2 separate regions of the Homo sapiens genome follow, and region 2 is linked to region 1. Evidence: promoter capture Hi-C in human tissues and cell types (Jung and others, 2019). All regions are on one chromosome and are shown on one strand. The core of a region is centred on a gene start or on the middle of the fragment in contact, and the rest is flanking DNA. Distances in the headings are between cores, read along the strand shown.

Region 1 (3,715 bases), core at 461-2,960:
TTTCTCTCTTGGGATACCAAGAAATGAGGTATCCTGAGAGAGAAGAAGCTCAACTTCCTTTACCTGCAGTGAAATCATTGGCCTTATCTATCTTCTTGTGAATTCATGTACAGATAAATTCTAGACCCCTACCTACACTTCAGGTTGTAGGTAAAAACACTGAAATCTCCAAATTTGTTTCGTTTTTATGAATATAATTGGTATAATAACAGCTTTTGGCAAAAGGAAACGGAGGGGGAGTATGATCTACTAATAAAAATAGTATCTGGACATTTATTACTTTTTTTATGCTTAATGTGCCTTTCATTCTTATAACTTAGCCAAGAGTTTTCCAGCAGCTGGAAATCTTTGAAATTAAACGATGCATGTGATTCAAAGAACAGTTATATCTCAGATCTAAGATGCAGAATGCATAGAGTTACCATTTCTGTTCAGTGGCATCATATAATTATGATGTAAACCTAATGTAAGTACAATGTAATTTTAGGTGACCGTCTCAAAGTCTTGCTAAAAATTATCCCAGGCACGTGTGTGACACACACAGACACACACACACACATATATAACTACTGTAATTAAGAGCGATTCTTCTGTGCGCTCCTCCTTATACACGCTTTAAAGCTGTTGGCCATAGTGGGTTCCGATTTGTGTTTGAAGTACCGCACAAGGAAGGTGGCCTGTGAAAAACGGGAAGGAAGGAGGCAAAACAGGAAGATGGAAGAAGAGAGTAGGCATGAAGGAAAGTGACAGGAGAAAGGAGGAGAGCCTCTTCCTTCCCCAACACACTCTTGTAGCTAGAAAGGTCCAAGCCCCCTCACCAAACACCAGACAAATCTTCCCAAAAGTTCCTGGCAGAGCCTTGGTGATGCCGAGGCTTGAGTGCGCCCCTCCTTGGTGCCCCAGCCACCAGGGCACGCAGGAGCATCCTGGAGCCTCAGCCCAGCAAACTCTTGGGTAGTTCAGGTTCCCTTCCGCGCCCGCTGCCTGCAGTCAATCACTGGGCACCGCGCGCCCATCCGTCACCTACTCCAGGGCTTCCAAGCCCTGAATCCTTCTGCCTCTCTCCATTCTCCCTTAGCCTCTCTCCATCCTCTCCTCCCCAGTGACTTGTCAAGAGGTCCAAGGGCGGAAGCCGAAGCAGAGAAGATGAGGGCGAAAGGCTAGGGGCCGGTTGGCGGATTTCCTACAAGGGGCGACAATGACGCCGTCAAGACGACCATCCAGGCCCGGCGGCCCCATTCCCTCTTTGCCCCACATCAGCCCCACAGCACCCTACACTCTCCATTGAGGCTTCAGTGTGTGATGAAGTAAGAGAATGAGGAAAAATAAACCCGCAGCCTCCTAGGCAGCCCTTACCTCAGGCTGCCCTCGCAGAAGCCGCCCTCCTCCTGCCCGAGGCGCCTCTGCTGCACCGCCGCGGCCGCAGCGCTCTGGACGCCGGGGCTCCGCCCGGCGCGGGTAGACCATGCGCTGCGAGTGAGCCTTCCGCGCTCCCGGGGGTGGGGGACGAAAGTCTGCCCGGAGGGCGCTCGCGTGCAGCCCGGCCCGCGACGAAGAGCCTGCAGCCGCTGAGGCGAGGCCAGGAGCCCCGGGAAGGGGCGCGCGGGCCGGGGGCGCGCGCGCGGACGGGCCAGCGGGCTAGCCTGGGGAACCCGCGCCAGGGAGACACAGGCGCTGGCGACGCGCCCCTCAGCTCTTCTCTCGTCCTCTGGCCCTTTAAACCCCCTCTCCCTACTGTCCACCCCCGCCCCCCGGAAGAGAGACAGCTCGCCGGTGCCACTTGGTCTGCCGCGCTGCGCTCCTCAGCCGGGTGCGGGGAATAACAATGTGACCGTATCGCACGGACGAGATGCTGTGTAGTAGGTTGTAACTGCTGAGGCCACCACCTGTCAATTCTAGGGTGCAAAGCACGCCGTCCCCAGTCGTCTGGCCTCTCCCTGATTGCCCTCCCAGGTTATTTTTTCCCCCACCTACCTCACAGACCTCCTGCAATATTCCGCGGGCACGGTACCAGGGGAGTTTTGCAAAATAACCCTCTCTCCCAGCCGGGAGCTCACTGCATCTCCCTTACCACCAGAGCTGAAGGATTACGCACAGCCCTGCGTGCCTATCCAAAGCCAGAGACCGAAAATCCTGGTTTGAACCCCACACTCGCCGGCCCCCCAGCCCCCATTCATAATCCCAGCGGCCGTCTGCCACTACACACCCTCCCCCGGCCGCCCGCGCTCTTTCCCATTCGCCGTCCCTGGAACGTGTCAGTCACTCGCTGTGCATCTGCCATGAATACAAGACGAAGAGCTCTGCAGCTACTGGCTGCACAAAGAGGGACTGGGGCGCAGGGGACGCAGACCCCCGGGTTGGGGGAGGCGAGAGAGCCAGCGGGGCACATTACGTGGAAGGAGCCAGTGGGACCGTGGGAGTCCTCTGGTCTCCTGTTGCACAAAGGAGCGCCAGAGTGAATACGCGCAGTGCTCCTGAACCAACAGGTCAGATCACCTCCCAAGAGGTGCTCCACCAAGACACCCCTGAAGGTGAGTCCCACAACTTGGGAATTCGTGTGATGGAGCAACAGGCACTCAGTAACCTGACTGAGCCTGCTTTAAAAATGCAACAGGATGGAGAGAGAGCGAGAGCGAGAGCGAGAGAGAGAGAGAGAGAGAGAGAGAGAGAGTGTGTGTGTGTGTGTGTGTAGAGTGGGAGAGGTATGCTGGAAAGCACAAGTTTCCTTTTCCCCGGTTGTCCAGCCCTTTCAGTCAGAGAAAAAAAGAAGGAAGCTGGCAAGGAAAAGAGGAGGAAGATAGGCATGAAGTAACTTTGCCTATCCAACTACTACAGTAGCTAGAGACCAAAATGACTTTAATAGACAACATTCGCCTGTTTCTCGATTTATTCCAATAAACATCATGCACACCTACTGTGCACTGAGCACTTTGCAGAAGCTAAGGATGCAGAGTCGATTAGGACATAGTCTCTGCACCCAAGGAGCTCACTGCCTAATAGGAGAACCAACTATGAAAGCCCGAGACAAACAACACAAGTATTTCACAACAGAAGCACATGCCAATTGCATAAGTGGAAGCAATTTTTTCTATGTAAGAGAAGGAACAGGTCAGGGAATTTAAATCCCATCTGAACTGTGTATTAAAGGACAAATAGGGACCTCCCAAAGAAGGGCAATAACCTAATAACCTACTATTCACCCATTCACCCAAAATAGCTTTACATGCCTGTACATTGAAAGGCATGTCTAAGAGCTTATCAGTGTAGGAACTTAATGAACTTTCCCCTTCATGGTTTTGGAGGAAACATATTCAAACACTAGCGTTTGGAGTATAAAACACCTATTTCCCCACATCTGAGATGCTACCAAGTGTTCGCTGGTTATTCTGCCTTTTTGGACCTGTTGCTTACACTATACCATCTACCTCATCCATAACCTTGAAATTGAGCCCAAAGCCAAAATTAATAATAGTGAGGCAATAAGCACCTGAAAGGAAGCCAACAAAATCCGCAATGTAGTCATTGTTCTCACAGTTTTCATCTGTAAAATGATGATAATGGAATCTCTTTTTCTGAACTACAGTTAGGATTAGTTAGATGTATTAAATATAAGGCAACCATTGCCTAAAGAGAGTGTAAGGAATCTAAATTGTAGTTCAATCTAGGGGAAAAAAAGAACCAATTTGAGCATCATGCTGCCCCTTTTTGAATATGA
Region 2 (3,715 bases), core at 524-3,023, 140 kb before region 1:
AGTTAGATCTTACATGGGTGGAGCAGGAAGAAGAGAGAGAGGGGAGAGGTGCTACACATTTCTAAATAACCATATCTCACAATAACTCACTCACTCATTATCATGAGGACAGCACTGAGGGGATGGTGCTAAGCCATTCATGTGAAAGTGCCCCCATGATCCAATCACCTCCCACCAGGTCCCACTTCCAACATTGGGGATTACAATTGAACATGAGATTTGAGTGAGGACACAGATTCAAACCACATCATTCTGCCCCTGGGCCCTCCCAAATCTCATGTCCTTCTCACACTGCAAAATACAATCATGCCTTCCCAACAGTTTCCCAAAGTCTTAATTCATTCCAGCATTAACTCAAAACTCCACAGTCCAAAGTCTCATCTGAGACAAGGCTAGTCCCTTCTGCCTATGAGCCTGTAAAATAAAAAACAAGTTAGTTACCTCCAAGATACAATGGGGGTATAGTCATTGGGTAAATACTTCCATTCCAAAAGAGAGAAATCAGCCAAAAGAACAGGGCTACAGGCCCTATGCAAGTCCAAAACCCAGCAGGGTGGTCATTAAATTGTATAGCTCCACAATAATCTCTTTTGACTCCATGTCCCACATCCAGGGCACACTGATGTAAGGGCTGGGCTCCCAAGGCCTTGGGCAGCTCCGCCCCTGTGGCCTTCCAGGGCTCGACCCCCCAATGCTGCTCTCAAGGGCTGGCATTGAATGCCTGTAGCTTTTCCAGGTGCAGGGTACAAGCTGCCAGTGGATCTATCATTCTGGAGTCTGGAGAACAGTGGCCCTCTGTGATGGTTAATACTGAGTGTCAACTTGATTGAACTGAAGGATGCAAAGTATTGATCCTGGGCATGTCTGTGAGGGTGTTGCCAAAGGAGATTAACATTTGAGTCAGTGGGCTCGGGAAAGAGGATTCACCCTTAATCTGGTGGGCACAATCTAATGAACTGCCAGCAAATATAAGGCAGGCAGAAAAACGTGAAAAGGAGAGACTGGCCTAGTCTCCCAGCCTATATCTTTCTCCCATGCTGGATGCTTCCTGCCCTCAAACATTGGACTCCAAGTTCTTCAGTTTTGAGACTCAGACTCACTCTCCTTGCTTCTCAAGCTTAAAGACAGCTTATTGTGGGACTTTGTATCCTAGTAGTTCTGTCCCTCTAGAGAACTCTGGCAAATATAGATTTTGGTACCAAGAATGGTTCTAGAGGAACAGTATTTTAAGAATGGAGTTCTTTCATTAGTTTGGGAGTTTCTGGAGTTGGCTGCTTAATATGATTAGACTCAAAAATGCTAAGGATTCTACTTCTAATAGTATGGAGAACACTGATAGTCCTTGGCATGGATTGTTTAGAGAGTTATACAAAATAAATGCATTTGACACTCCCAATTCACCACTCATGAGAGGCAAGGAGTTTAGTGACTCTATACATAATACCTTTGACCATATGTGCAGAACCAAGGAACGTAATGAAGCTGATTGGTTGCGCCTAAGTTCAGTGGACAAAGTGATGAAAGAAAATGATAAACTCATGGATTCTGTCTCCTGGCTTCAGAAGCAAATACTGAACCTCAAGTCTGTTAAGATTGCCCTAAGTGAAAGTCTTATTTCCTATAGAGAAAGAGCGGGAATTATGGAAAAACAGGCACAAACTCTTATCATGAAAGTGGGTGACCTGCAACAGAAGGTGCATGCACAGCCTCACCAGGTGTCTATTAAAGTGAGATTGATTGGAAAAGAATGGGACCCTGCAACTTGGAACAGGAACATGTGGGAAGACACTGATGAAGCTGGGGATACTGAATTTGTAAACTCTGATGAATCTTTTTTGCCAGAAGGAACAGCTTCCCCATCCCCAGTAGTGGCAACATCCCCTCCCCGACCCATGCTGCCATCAGCCTTTCTACCTTTGTCTGAAGAGATAAACCCTGTGCCGCCTGAGGCAACAGTGATGGCCTCCCCTGAGGTGGTTGCCAGGCAAGGTAATGCTGATTCTCCTCAGGAGCCACCCCCAACCTGCCTGTTTGCTTCTAGACCTATAACTAGACTAAAGTCCCGGCGGGCCCCTAGAAGTAAGGTTGAGAGTGTGACCCATGAGGAGGTGCGCTACACTGGAAAAGAACTGCTTGAGTTTTCTCATTTATATAAACAGAAATCTGAAGAACATGGGAATGGATATTAAGGGTGTGGGATAATGGTGGAAGGAATACAGAGTTGGATCAGGCCGAATTTATTAATTTGGGCCCACTACATAGGAACTCTGCTTCTAATGTTGCAGCTTGGTGAGTTAAAAAATGTTCTAATAGTTTATTTGCTTGGTTAGCTGAAATATGGACTAAAAGATGGCCCACTGTAAGCAAGCTGGAAATGCCTGATCTCCCTTGGTTTAATGGAGAGGAAGGGATCCAGAGGCTTAGGGAGATTGGGATGATGGAGTGGATTAGTCACTTTAGACCTCTCATCCCAGCTGGGAGGGTCCAGAAGATACACCCTTGACCAATGCCTTGCAAAATAGATTTGCGAGGGTGGCACCTGCATCTTTGAAGAGCCCTGTAATTGCTCTTCTCTGTATGTCAGATCTAACAGTGGGAACTGCAGTCACTCAACCACAAAATTTAAATACAATGGGAGTAATTAGATCCTGAGGTGGCAGGAGCCAAGTGGTGGCACTCAACCTTCAAAGGCAAGGTGGGCGTAGCTACCTTATTGGACAGCAGAGGCAAAGTGGCAATCAGAATGGTCTGACTCGTGTAGAGTTATGGCATTGGCTAATTAATCACGGTGTTCCTAGAAGTGAAATTGATAGGAAGCCTACTGCATTCGTACTTAATTTATACTAGCAGAAAACTTCTAGGTCGAATGGACAAAAGACTAATTTAAATTATAAAAACAGAGAATAATGGCCCCTCAATCGATTTCCAGACTTGAGCCAGTTTACAGACCCAGAACTCCTTGAATGAAGGGGAGGCCAGGTACCCTTGAGGAAGGACCTCACTACGTTATCGACAATTTGAGCAGTGAATCTTTCTCCCATCCTTCCCCAAGGAGACCTCCAGCCTTTTACCAGGGTACCTGCCCACTGGGGAGAGGGAAATGATCGACATTTAAGGAACTAGTGGACACTGGCTCTGAGCTGACATTGATTCCAGAGGACCCAAAATGTCACTGTGGTCCTCCAGTTAAAGCAGGGGCTTATGGAGGTCAGGTAATTAATGGAGTTGTAGCTCAGGTCCAACAAAGAGTGGATCCAGTGGGTTCCCGGACTCATCCTGTGGTCATTTCCCCAGTGCATAATAGGCATAGACATTCTTAGCAACTGGCAGAACCCCCACATTGGCTCCCTGACTGGTAGGGTGAGGGCTGTTACGGTGAGAAAGGCCAAATGGAAGCCATTAGAGCTGCCTCTACCTAGAAAAATAGTAAATCAAAAACAATATCGCATCCCTGGAGGGACTGTGGAGATTAGTGCCACTATCAAGGACTTGAAAGAAGCACGAGTGGTTATTCCCATTCAACTCTCCCATTTGGCTGTGCAGAAGACAGATGGATCTTGGAGAATGACAGTGCCTTATCATAAGTTTAACAAAGTGATGACTCCAATTGCAGCTGCTGTACCAGATGTGATAAAGATAATATATATTATATATATTTACATATATTATATATATAATACATATTATATATATTTACATATATTATATATATAAT

The links. The method cuts DNA at HindIII sites, captures the fragments that hold promoters and counts their contacts. A contact is called where the count stands out against the background at its distance.
Region 2: a contact is called between a fragment that was not itself captured here and the fragment with the promoter of PDE4B in region 1, in 3 of the 25 tissues and cell types used here (H1 embryonic stem cells, bladder and liver).

The regions. Positions count from the first base shown.
Region 1 is chr1:65,790,890-65,794,604 of GRCh38, reverse strand. It overlaps PDE4B (phosphodiesterase 4B), which reads right to left and starts at 1,710. Exons shown (of 17, transcript NM_002600.4): 1 at 1,357-1,710. The HindIII fragment of the contact is 13,295 bases long and covers 1-3,715 here.
Region 2 is chr1:65,927,457-65,931,171 of GRCh38, reverse strand. The region is part of intron 3 of PDE4B (phosphodiesterase 4B); the gene reads right to left. Among named protein-coding and RNA genes, the nearest start is that of PDE4B-AS1, 120 kb to the left of the region's middle. The HindIII fragment of the contact is 7,284 bases long and covers 1-3,715 here.